Regions from separate parts of the Homo sapiens genome. Here region 2 is linked to region 1. The links are contacts of gene promoters, found by promoter capture Hi-C in blood cells and fetal thymus (Javierre and others, 2016). All regions are on one chromosome and are shown on one strand. The core of a region is centred on a gene start or on the middle of the fragment in contact, and the rest is flanking DNA. Distances in the headings are between cores, read along the strand shown. Region 1 overlaps SDR42E2 (short chain dehydrogenase/reductase family 42E, member 2). Region 2 holds the start of METTL9 (methyltransferase 9, His-X-His N1(pi)-histidine).

Region 1 (5,837 bases), core at 1,732-4,231:
ACCACGCCCGGCTAATTTTTGTATTTGTAGTAGAGACAGGGTTTCACCATGTTGACCAGCCTGGTCTCGAACTCCTGATCTCAGGCAATCCGCCCGCCTCAGCCTCCCAAAGTGCTGGGATTACAGGCTTGAGCCACTGCACCCAGCCTGGTCATTTAATATTAAAAACAAGTTACTTGTGACATATTTCACAGCTAAACAAGGCACCCCAGCAAGGGCTGCTGATTTAAAGGAATCCAGTGACTTCTGCAAAGTGACCTCTAGCAAAGCAAATGGTGTCCCCCATTGATTTGTCCCCAAGGGCCTCCCTGGAGTTTGCATAATGTGAGGCCCCTGGTCACTGGCCCCCTCCTTCCCTGCAGCAGCAGTTATGGAGCGCCTCCATCTGGCCCTGAGACCCATCTGCAGCCTCCCACCGCTGCTCACTCGTAGTGAGGTAAGTGGGCTGCTGTTATGGGACCTAGGCCCTGCTCCCCATCCCTCCCTTCCTACCTCTCCCCACCATCCCCACTGCTGCCACTCCTTACCCCTTTGACACCATGATGACACATGCTTGTCTGAAGTCTCAGAACTTTCCATGTGGGCCCAAAGCTGGTGCTAGCTCTGTTATGATCACCCCAACCTCTGGGCTTTTGCTGAGGCTGTGCTTTCTGGGTCTGAAATGTGACAGCTCCAAGCCTATCCATCATCACTGTTTCTTCATTCATAAGCATCTTGTCTTTCCAGCCAGACTGGAGGTTCCCAAAGGCAAGTTTCAGGCCATTCACTTCTTTGAATGCTACCAATCCCACCAACTCTCAACACATACATACACACACACAACAGCCTGGTGGTCCTAGGCTCATAGTTCATGCTTACTGAATAATGAGTATATATTAAGTACCTACTACATACAGAATATAATTATTTTTATGAGACAGGGTCTCACTATATTGTCCAGGCTGGTTTCAAACTCCTGAGCTCAAGAGATCCTCTTGGCCAGGTGTGGTGGCTCGCACCTATAATCCCAGTGCTTTGGGAGGCTGAGACAGGAGGATCACTTGAGGCCAGGAGTTTGAGACCAGCCTGGGCAACATAGCAAGACCTCATCTCTACAAAAAATTTTAAAATTAGCCAGGCAAGGTGGTGCATGCCTTTAGTCCCAGCTCAGGTGGGGGATTACTTGAGCCCAGGAGTTCAAGGCTGCAGATTGCACCACTGTACTCCAGCCTAGGCAACAGATGGAGATCCTGCCCCTAAAAACCAAAAAAAAAAAAAAAGATTCTCCCCCCTCAGCCTTCTAAATAGCTGAGATTACAGGCATGCACCACCATGCCTGGCTCAGAATACTATTCTCATAATAATGATGATGCAGGTTTATATTTGCTTAGTTAAAAGAGAGGATGTTTTCATCACAGATTGTAAATAGCAAAGTAATCGGTGGTATTTGAGGTTATTTGCAAAAATCCTTCCAGTCCAGTCGGGCACGGTGGCTCACACTTGTTCCCAGCACTTTGGGAGGCTGAGGCGGGTGGATAACCTGAGGTCAGGAGTTTGAGACCAGCCTGGCCAACGCAGTGAAATCCTGTCTCTACTAAAAATACAAAAATTAGCTGGGTGTGGTGGCACATACCTGTAGTCCCAGCTACTCGGGATGCTGAGGCAGAAGAGTCGCTTGAACCTGGAAGGTGGAGGTTGCAGTGTGCTGAGACCACACCATTGTACTCCAGCCTGGGTGACAGCACAAGACTCCATCTAAAAAAAAAAAAAAAATTACTTCCAGTCCACTCTCGTTTTATTGTCTCTGATGCCCTGCTAAGTTAAAAAGGTCAAAAAAAAATCGTGATCTCCATTTTATGATGAAAAATTGAGCACTAGGAAAATTATTTGTCCAAGGCCACACCATACTGGAATTGGCTTCAGACTCCATGTTCAGTGCTCTTTAACAAGGGGAGTCAGAGGGGGAGAGTGGAGAATGGGCCACAGAAAGAAGTAGTCACCTATGGCTTCTCCTTTGAGCCATCCGGATCAGTGGAGGAGAGAATAAGATGATACTGACAATCTCTTGAGTTGTGACAGTATGCCAGGCACTGTGCTTTATCTCATTTAACTGAGTTGTAGACAACATTGTCCTCTCCATTTAGAGAGGAGGAAATGAGACACACAGTGAAATAACCTGCCCGTGATCACTCACTTAAATGGTAGAGCTGGGATTTGAACCCAGACCTCAGTGATTTCAAGCTTAACCATTAGCTTGTGAAAATGCATCAGGAATCACATCCACATAAAATAGCTGCCAGGGTGCAGCTGAATTGTGGTCAGGCAGGGACTTGGCTCCTCTCCCTCTTGTTTAACTTGGGGATTTCCTTGTTCAGCTCAGGGGCAATGTCCTTAACTGTGGAAGTTCCTTGGCTGTGGCTCGGGTACCCTCTGCTGGTCAATCTGTGACACATCAACCAGCCCTCCAGTTTGACTTTATAGCCTTTTATGCATTTAACATAAATGTTACCAGGCACTGTGCTGAGCAACGGAGGCAAGAAGACATAGTCCTTGCCCTTAGGGAGCTCCTAGTTCAAAGGGGAAGACAGCCCACTAACCAGGCAACTCAACACTGTAATTAGAGCCATTCTTGGGAAAATCGCGAGAAACTCCAGTGCACACAGAAGGGGCGCCTCAGCCAACTCTGAGGAAGTCAGAGAAAGCTTCCCAGAGGTGACATCTAGAGACATCTAGGTGTATTAGGGACCCTGCTTATCTAGCGTAACTCAACTCCTGTGCTCCCCAAAGCCCTGCACTTACTGACTAGGAAAAAAAGGGACAAATACTGGCCTCTCTCCTCACCCCCCATTAAGCATCCAAGACCACAGGTTTGACCCCAGGGGCTGTTTCAATGCCATGGGAGAATCCAGCAGCTGGTGGATTCTTCCCCAGGGTCCGGCTGAGGAAAAAGAGAGGAAGAAATGAGTCAGGTGGGAGAACATCTCCAGGTGCCAGCACAGCAGAGAAGAAATTAGGCTAGAACCTGGCTCCCCTGTGCGACCCCAGGCAAGTCACTCAACCTCTCTGACCTTTTTCCAAGTATGCACAGAACAGATAGTGCTAGTACCACCTGAGAGGATTAAATGAGGTAGGGCATAGAAAGGATTTAGTCCAGGCCAAATGCAGGGTGTGTGTTCCTTAACTGCTGATAGCTATCATTACTACCCTTCAAACCAGTGGGCCCCAAGCCATCTGGCAGCAGGGGAAACACAGCTTAGACCCTGGAGAGCAATCAGTTCTGCATAATCGAATTCCTCTCTTAGGGAAGCTTAGTTAATAAGCGAGGGCATGAAGGCTGCGACTGGGGCCCTCCTGGTCACAGTTGGTCTGGGGTTGGGGGCAGGAAGCCAAGGTCGTTTCCTGCAGATGTTTCTGGCAGGCGTTCACCTTCTCCTAGCGGATGCCTAAGAATGTATCAAGGGCCTCCTGAGTCCCAGCACCGTGCTAGGCCGGGAAGATGAGTGTAGGGGTGAGACCTTTGCTTCTTAGGGACCAAGGAGTTAAATAGGGTGCGAATTCAGCGGGGCTGGAGGGGGCGACGCAAAGGCGGCACCCTCCAATAAAAATGAACATGTAAGGAAGAAAGGAAGACCTCTCTAATGAGGGCATCGCAGGAGCAAGACGCTGCACTCGGGTCCTTTTAAATCACTATGTAATGGAGGGGAAATCCCTGCCCTCTCTTTTCCCTTTCCGTAAACAACGAAGTAGAGGATGTCCTCCTCCCACGAGGCCCGCCCTCGGATGCCCCGCCTGTCCCCGCAGGTGCGCAGCGTGGCCGTGACGCACACCTTCCAGATAGCCAAGGCCCGCGCCCAGCTCGGCTACGCGCCGGATAAGTTTAGGTTCGCCGACGCCGTGGAGCTATACGTGCAGTCCACGACCCGGCGGCCCCGCGGCTCCACGGCGCGGACCCTCCTGCGCCTGCTGCTCAGGCTGCTGCTGTTCCTCGGCTTGCTCGCCCTGGCCCTGCACTTCCTAGGCCTGCAGCCTCTGCACGCCGCCGTGGAGCGCCTGTGACCGTCCGCCGTCCGCCGCCCGCTAGGGTCGGCCCCGCTGCACCCTCGCCCACGCCCGGCTCCCTGGGCTTGTACCAGCCCCTGCCCCGCCTTCTGGGTTTGAGCGCGCCTCCGCTCCGCCCCTTGAATCCTGGTCACGCCCCCGAGCCGCTCTCCAGACCTAGCCCGGACCGCCGACTTCTGGCCACGCCCCTATCTACTCCCAGACCTTGCCTTGCGCCCTTCCTGTGTTTTGGCCCCGCCCCTGTCCTGTCCCGCCCCGCCCTCCGAAGTGGGCACGCTCCTGCTCCGCCCCCTGAATCCTGGCCACGTCCCTGGTCGGCCCAGACGCGTAGCCCCGAGTCTCTTTCCATGTTTTGACCACGCCCTTGACCCGCCCTTCAAATTGGGCACGCCTTCTTCCCCGCTCACTGATTTCCTGGCCTAGCCCCTGAGCAGACCTCCAGACCTAGCCCCGCCCCCGTTTTATAACCCCGCCCCTGCTTCACGGCTTGGGCACGCCTCTTCCCCGCCCCCTGACTTCAGAGCCTAGTCCTGAGCCGCTCTCCAGGCCTAACCCCGCCTTCATGTCATAGCCACGCCCCTTCCCGCCCTTCCATGTTTGGGCACGCCTTCTGAGTCCTGGTCACGCCTCTGTCCCGCCCCCTGAATCTTTCCTACGTCCATGACCCTCCCTCCAGGCCCTGGCCCTGCCCCTTTTTTCCTCCCTCCGGCCTGTCCGGTTTCTGATATGGGCCAAGGCTCACAGCTTCCTCCGCCTTCTGGACCTTCTCCTAGTCCCTGCCCAGTCCCGGCCCACCCCCAGATTCTCCCTCATTCTGGTTTCGCCCCCTTTCTGGTCCTCCCCGCGCGCTTGAGCCCACCCTTTGGCTTCTCCTTTTGGGTCTGTCCTTGCTCCTGCCTCTGGACCCGGTCCCGCCCTTCTCGCGTGTAATTGAGTCCTGGCCCCGCCCCCTCCCTCTCTGGCTTCACCCCTTTCCAGCTCCGCCTCCCGGGTAGGTTCTCCCCGGAACCAGGCTGCCGCGTCGCTATGGGCTAACGCAGGCTCGGGTGACGTTGGTATGAGTTTGCGCCGTCGGCTGCTGCTCTGTCTGGTAACATTGCATTCGATCCACCCCGACCCAATGTTCTGGGCTTCTCATTCACACAGATCTGTGTGTTGACAGCCAGGGTTTGGGGAAAAACCGAGACTCAAGCTTCTGCCGAGCCCGACTTGGCCTTTTTGGGTTCCTGTCTGAGGATGACAGCATAGTAAGCACAGGTTTTAGTACCAGAAAGAGCATGAAAAATTTAAAAAAAAAAACTCTTAAAATAATTGGATGTCTCGATGAAGTACCAATAAAGCTATAATGGGAAAAATAGAGTTTAGTTGGTTATATTTTATGATTTAGTACTGTTTCTATTTATTAATTAGAGGTAGTGGTAATCACCATAATCTTTAAAGTTTAAGGTCACGAAACTTCTTTATCTAGCCCTGCTCTCCACAGAAACTTCGCCTCCTATCATCTTGGTATCAGTTATCAGTTGTAAGTACCAAGACATCAGTGTGTAAATACAACCATGTATAGATCATAATATGCACACGTGGGACTGGCAGAGAAGAAAAGCACCACAAGCCTGAGGTGGATGGGATCGAAAGGGCTCATCAGAACCAACATGGCCACCGCAGTGTGTGTCCCACTCTGCTGAACAAGGTGAGCAGTTTGGGAAGGAGCTAAAAAAAAATGTATGCTCCTCTCTGCTAGGCTGAATTTTATGTGTGTATATAATTTTTGAAAGAATAATAATCCTATGTCTGTTTAA
Region 2 (6,019 bases), core at 2,605-5,104, 590 kb before region 1:
CTGTGTCAGCCTCCTGAGTAGCTGGGATTACAAGCATGAGCCATGGTGCCTGGCCTAGGCTACTAATTTTTTTTTTTTCAAAGCTGTCTGCAGTTTTGCCTTGACTTAGAATTCATCAACTGGAGCCCACAGTGATATCATTGCACAGGATTGAAGTTGTATCAACTAAATTCAGATAAAGATCTCCTACGTTAATTAATTAAACAAATTGTTGAGTACATTTGCTAATTTTGTTAGAGGTGCTCATTGCTTAATAACTACAGGACACATTCTATTGAATATACTGGGAAAAAGCTGTATCTTTCTCTGAAGGTATACAAAACAATATTAAGAAGCATAAAAAATATCTGTCCATAAAAACATGATTATGGCCAGGTGCAGTGGCTCACGCCTGTAATCCTAGCACTTTGGGAGGCTGCAGCAGGCGGATCACGAGGTCAGGAGTTTGAGACCAGCCTGGCCAACATGGTGAAACCCCATCTCTACTAAAAATACAAAAAATAGCCAGGCGTGGTGGCAGGTGCCTATAATCCCAGCTACTCAGGAGGCTGAGGCAGGAGAATTGCTTGAACCCGAGAGGCAGAGGTTGCAGCAAGCCGAGATCGTGCCACTGCACTCCAGCCTGGGCAACAGAGCAAGACTCCATCTCGGGAAAAAAAAAGTGATTATATGAGTTATTTTTATTTTTATTTTTTGATACAGGGTCACCCAAGCTGGAGTGCAGTGGCACAATCTCAGTTCACTGCAGCCTCAGCCTCCCAGGCTCAGGTGATCCTCCCACCTCAGCCTCCTGAGTAGATGGGTCTACAGGTGCATGTCACCACGCCTGTCTTATTTTTGTATTTTTTGTAGACACGGGGTTTCTCCATGTTGCCCAGGCTGGCCTTGAACTCCTGGGCTCAAGCCATCCACCTGCCTTGGCTTCCCAAAGTGCTGGGATTACAAGCATGAGCCACCCTGCCTGGTCTATATGAGTTCTTTTTAAATCATTATCTCTTCAAGGAGATAACAATCATCAATAGGTTTTGTACAGATCCAAACTCTCTGCTTGTGGATTCTCTTAACATGATACTTTGTAATTGAAAAGAGAATATGAAAATGCCAAGCTTTGTAACTTCAAAGAACAACAATAACAAAAAGCCTTTGCCTAGAGATCTAGATAGGAAAGTGATCCCGCCAAAATTTTGGGCCTGTGTACAGGGCTGTGACCCAAGTGGGACACCTGGGGTCAATGAGCAGAGTTCGGTGCAGAGGGTCATTTGTGTATCTTTTGAATATTACTAACTGCATCTCAAGATCATGTTAGAACGAGTATTGGCTATTTGGCTTTTTGTGTCATCTTGCCCCTTCCCGTCTCCATTATGGAGAATTGAGGTTTTAATATACGGTAGTGACATTCTAGTAGATGAAGGAAGGGGGCTGTCCCCAGTGGGCAATCTGAACTTCTGCTTCGTATATTTACTCTTGCTGTTTTCGTTTCTCCTCATTTGTAATTCAGGAGGCTCTCTGAGAAGAGACAGCAAAGCTTCTTAGATGGATCGAAAGACCACGAGCTGGGATACCAAGTTCTATGAAAAGGTCAGCTATTGAATTTACTCTGCTACCTTCAGGCAAATCATTTGATCATCGGATGCTCTGGTTTCTTCCTGTGCCTGCTAAATGTAAATAGCATGGGTTTGAGTGTTTGGTGGTTATTATAGAGTATTTTAAATGTATGAGTGATTTATTTTTCTAGGCCAGCTGCTCAGATATAAAACAAAATCTGCTCCTTTGAGCTGTTAGGCTTCGTGGCAGTCAACTGACCCCAAAATCCTTCTGACTACAGCAGCCATCTACTTGCTTGTTCATCTGATAACATTTTGCAGTCTCTCAGCTACAGCTATGTGGTCTCACTCTATAGCTGGGGCATACCTTTTTGTCTCCTTTGTCTTCAGAAAGGAAATATGCCATTTTATGCACTCCTGCTGCTTTCACCCCCACTTTAAAAAGATGAAGGCTTCCTTTTGTGACAGAGTTGCTTTGTCTGTTACACTGATCCTAAGAGACAGGAAGGAGAGGTGTCATAGTAAATAAACAGTTATTGGACTTGCTACCATAGTTCCTTTTTGATGACTTGGGCCAGGACCACTAGAGGTTTGAACTAGATTTAGTAAGGCTTGGGCTTTTCGGGGTTTTGGCAGGAAGCAGTCAGGGAGTATATTGGAAAGAGAGAACACAAAATACCGAACCCCACCCACCCTGTGCCTTTTTGTTTGTTGTTACAGCCTGTTACATTAGGCAACAAGATATCCTTGTTAGCCAAAGGTGCCAAGCTGAGATTCTTAAAAGCTAATGAAAGAGCTGTTGGGCCAGGTGCGGTGGCTCACGCCTGTAATCCCAGCACTTTGGGAGGCCGAGGCAGGCGGATCACGAGGTCAAGAGATGGAGACCATCCTGGCCAACATGGTGAAATCCCGTCTCTACGAAAAACACAAAAATTAGCTGGGCATGGTGGCGCGCACCCGTAGTCCCAGCTGCTCGGGAGGCTGAGGCAGAAGAATTGCTTGAACCCGGGAGGCGGAGTTTGAAGTGAGCCGAGATCGAGCCACTGCACTCCAGCCTGGAGACAGAGCGAGACTCCACTCCGTTTCAAAAAAAAAAAAAAAAAAAAGCTGTTGGGTAAGGAATGATTTTGTTCCCCATCTGTGGCTCACCACCCCACTGTTTCATAAATGAAAATCTCTGATGTGCAACGCTGAATTAACCAAAAGGCTTACTTCTTTTGTTTTGAACTTAGACACATTTACATTATTTCTGGTGCAGTTAAATTAAAAGCACTTTCCAAACAAACCTAGGAAAGTATTAAAGTTAGGGACTCCCACGAAATGTTACTCCTTAATTGTGGCTTGGATAATAGCAGGAAGAACTGCAGACAGGAACACAGTGTAACTAACCCTTCAGTTCTGAAATGTTGCTAGGTCTCCTCGTGTTATAAATGATCAAATAAATATCCGGGTTAAACACTGCTCCCAGAGCTGAGTTCACTCTTAAGAGTGTTGGGTCCAACTTCCCTGTGCTAATTCAAGGAAACAAGGCAGCCAAGGAGTCTAACTTGAGGTCTTCATTCTTGGGCAGGGCCATCAATACATCTAAAACATTACTTGTGGGTACCCCAGCTGCGGTAGCTTCCCCAAAAGGCAGAATTTTCACTCATTCTTTATAGAAACACGTAGCCAGCAACTTCTCAGGCTTGGGGAACGGGGCAGGCGGGTCGTGGTGGTGGGGAGAGTAGAGGAGGGAGTCTGGCAGGTCGGTTCTAAATGTAAACTGGAAACTACGCATCCGAGCGGGCAACCATCACTGGCACCATTCGTCTCCGGGAAGAACCTGTGTGTGTCAGGATGCACGAAAGGAATGACTCCCCTCTTTGCGCCCCCGGGGTTAACTGCACGACCCTGTCAAAGTCCCGCCGTGGAGTGGGATGAGGGTCGAGAGGTAACCCTGTCAAAGTCCCGCCGTGGAGTGGGATGAGGCGAGGAAAGACTGGAGGTCCTTCCAGCACCACCTTGGAGGGGCAGGGAGGCTGCAGTTACCGCCTTCGGAAGTGATCTCCTCAGCCCTCAAAAAAATTAAAACCACCTCCGCCATTTACTAGAGGCCAAGGCAGGGCCGGGACACGAGAACGCGCTCCGGGCGGATGCGCGCTCCCTTTGTCCCGCCTCCCAGCGGCCCGCTCATTGGACGGAGGGAGGGCGCCGGGGGAGAAAGCGACGCGGCCGCTCGTAAGTGCTCCGGATGGAAACTGGTGCAGGGGGCAGCGGCGTTCCGCGGCCGGAAGGGAAGGGGGAGGTGCCGAGGCTGCGCGCCGGCTGCTCCTCCCCACCCCCAGCCTTTGCCCTGAAGGGGGCTGGATGGGCAAGGCGGCCGCGATGGCTCGAGCTCGGGCGGTGGCGGCGGTGGCCGGAGGCGGCGGTGCCTCCTCCTCCTCGCCCCGGCGCCGGCGGTGATCCGAGCGAGCGGCCGCGGCCCCCGATGAGACTGCTGGCGGGCTGGCTGTGCCTGAGCCTGGCGTCCGTGTGGCTGGCGCGGAGGATGTGGACGCTGCGGAGCCCGCTCACCCGCTCCCTGTACGTGAACATGACTAGCGGCCCGGGTGGGCCGGCGGCGGCCGCGGGCGGCAGGAAGGAGAACCACCAGGTACGGGCTGGGGCCGGGGCCGGGGCGGGGGCGTGGCGGCCCGGCCTTCCCGCGCTGGGCCCGGCTATTGTGCGGGACGGCTCCGCGAGGGGGCGGCCCGGCCCTCGCCCCTCCGCCTCGGCCCCTTGGAAAGTTTTCCCCGCGCCTTCCCCGCCGGGCGTCGACTCCGCGAGCCCCGGGCACCCGGCCGCGGCCCCGCGAGCGCCTTTTGTTCCGCAGCGCAGGCGGGGCATGGCCTCCCGGGCCCGATCGTGAGCGGCCCGGAGCCCCGCATTGTTCCTGGGTCCCGGGCGGTGACTGCGGACGCCCGGCAGCGGGACTGGGGAACTTTGGGGCCAGAGCGTGGCTGGGGGCGCCCGCCTGGCACCGAGGCCTGAGACTGAAGAGACCCGGCCAGATCCATTACCCCGAGAAACAAAACGAAAAGCCAGCCCCTCTTGTTGTCTCGTTGAATCCCAGAACGTACAAAGGGTCGTGAAGAAATGTAACTGTACATCGCAAGCCATTGAACTCTCCAGGCTGATTGGGGTGACATTTCTCCCTAAGCACTTAAAAAATGGGTTTGACAGGTTGTCGCTCCCATCCTACGGAACCTTCCCCTCCTACCTAGCAGAGATCTCCTTTAAACTTGGATTTAGTCAGCCTGCTAGAAAGATTGTGTGTGATGAGGAGGAAGATTATGCAAGTTTTACAGGAAGGGTTTTTAAAACAGAACGGGACGGGAGGGAGTTTTAGTTATGCATCGTGAGCGTTACGCTGTGACCGGGTAGGTAGGCTTTTCATTAGCTCAGTCTTGCGCCACTTAAACGTGTACAGGTTAACTGTAGAATTAAGTGAGATATTTCGTATATGACCTTAACATAGTTTGCAGTTAATGTTAAATTCATTGAAAAGAGGCTTTTGAACTCTGCCAGAGTGTTGGCTTGTCATAGCTAGCATTTATAATACATTTTGCTTTTCCATAGAGTATTAATTATTCCCTATATCATCTTGTGTCTCATCATTTTCATATATTTCTCATTTTCCTACATTACTTTTTTATTATGCCAGGTGTTCAGAGAATTTACACCCAGGTTGATTTCATGTGTTTTAATGAGGGTAGAGAATTGTCTAAGAAGGAGATAGAGCAATTTAGAAAAGTAGCATTTAGTCTTTAGTAATATGTATATTGGGCTTTTTTCTATTGTTAAAGGAATCCTAAATTTCTGTAAATTTTTTTGAAAGCCTCCAGCCATTGCAGTTTGTTAGGTGCAATATCAGTATCATTGATCACTTGTATGATATGGTTAGGAATGTATGTAAACTTAAATTGCAAAACCACATTTATTCCTATGGATTATTTGCTTACACTAGTTCATTCTTATAGAGACAACTCAAAGGTACTGTACCGTTGACTGTACAGTTACCAGAATGTCACATATGGAACAATGGGGTAGACAATGAATTAGAAATGTCATTTTTAACATTTTTAAGCAGTTGATAGAAATAAGGTCCTGGATAGGAGAAAAAGCGATTTATCTCCATTGATGGGGGATTATGGTTGAGTCTCTTAGCTATTGGTATTTATAACACTTATCATGATTACCCCTACTGCAGCCACTTGGTAGGTTTTTAGTGCTCATAAAAGAATTGCACTTATTTTAAAATTGAAACACTATTTCAACACTGTGATGTGTATGGAGGCGGAATTGCAGCTGTAGACATAGCCTCAGAATATCTCCCAGCAGAGGATACTTTCTGACTGTACCTTTTAAAAGCTGAATCTGTTAAGTTCTAATGAAAACTAATACTGGTTTCAGATACGTTTATTTCAGATACCGTATTTATATTCTGTGTGTGTGTG

The links. The method cuts DNA at HindIII sites, captures the fragments that hold promoters and counts their contacts. A CHiCAGO score of 5 or more calls a contact.
Region 2: the fragment with the promoter of METTL9 here is called in contact with a fragment that was not itself captured in region 1 in 12 of 17 cell types (fetal thymus, total CD4 T cells, naive CD4 T cells and 9 more); the score reaches 12.8 in fetal thymus.

What each region holds. Positions count from the first base shown.
Region 1 is chr16:22,186,359-22,192,195 of GRCh38, forward strand. SDR42E2 (short chain dehydrogenase/reductase family 42E, member 2) reads left to right here. Exons shown (of 13, transcript NM_001394319.2): 12 at 363-436; 13 at 3,781-5,393. The coding sequence ends at 4,035. It overlaps LOC124903666 (a long non-coding RNA gene), which reads right to left and starts at 1,654. Exons shown (of 2, transcript XR_007065028.1): 1 at 1,613-1,654. RefSeq lists silencers at 3,779-3,868, 3,959-4,008, 4,149-4,248 and enhancers at 3,954-4,453, 4,709-4,788, 5,289-5,348. The HindIII fragment of the contact is 605 bases long and covers 2,680-3,284 here.
Region 2 is chr16:21,595,723-21,601,741 of GRCh38, forward strand. METTL9 (methyltransferase 9, His-X-His N1(pi)-histidine) reads left to right here and starts at 3,855. Exons shown (of 5, transcript NM_016025.5): 1 at 3,855-4,176. The coding sequence starts at 4,012. It overlaps LOC101927814 (a long non-coding RNA gene), which reads right to left and starts at 3,663. Exons shown (of 3, transcript NR_110930.1): 1 at 2,934-3,663; 2 at 1,912-2,037. RefSeq lists a silencer at 3,842-4,461 and an enhancer at 4,570-5,134. The HindIII fragment of the contact is 7,148 bases long and covers 1,524-6,019 here.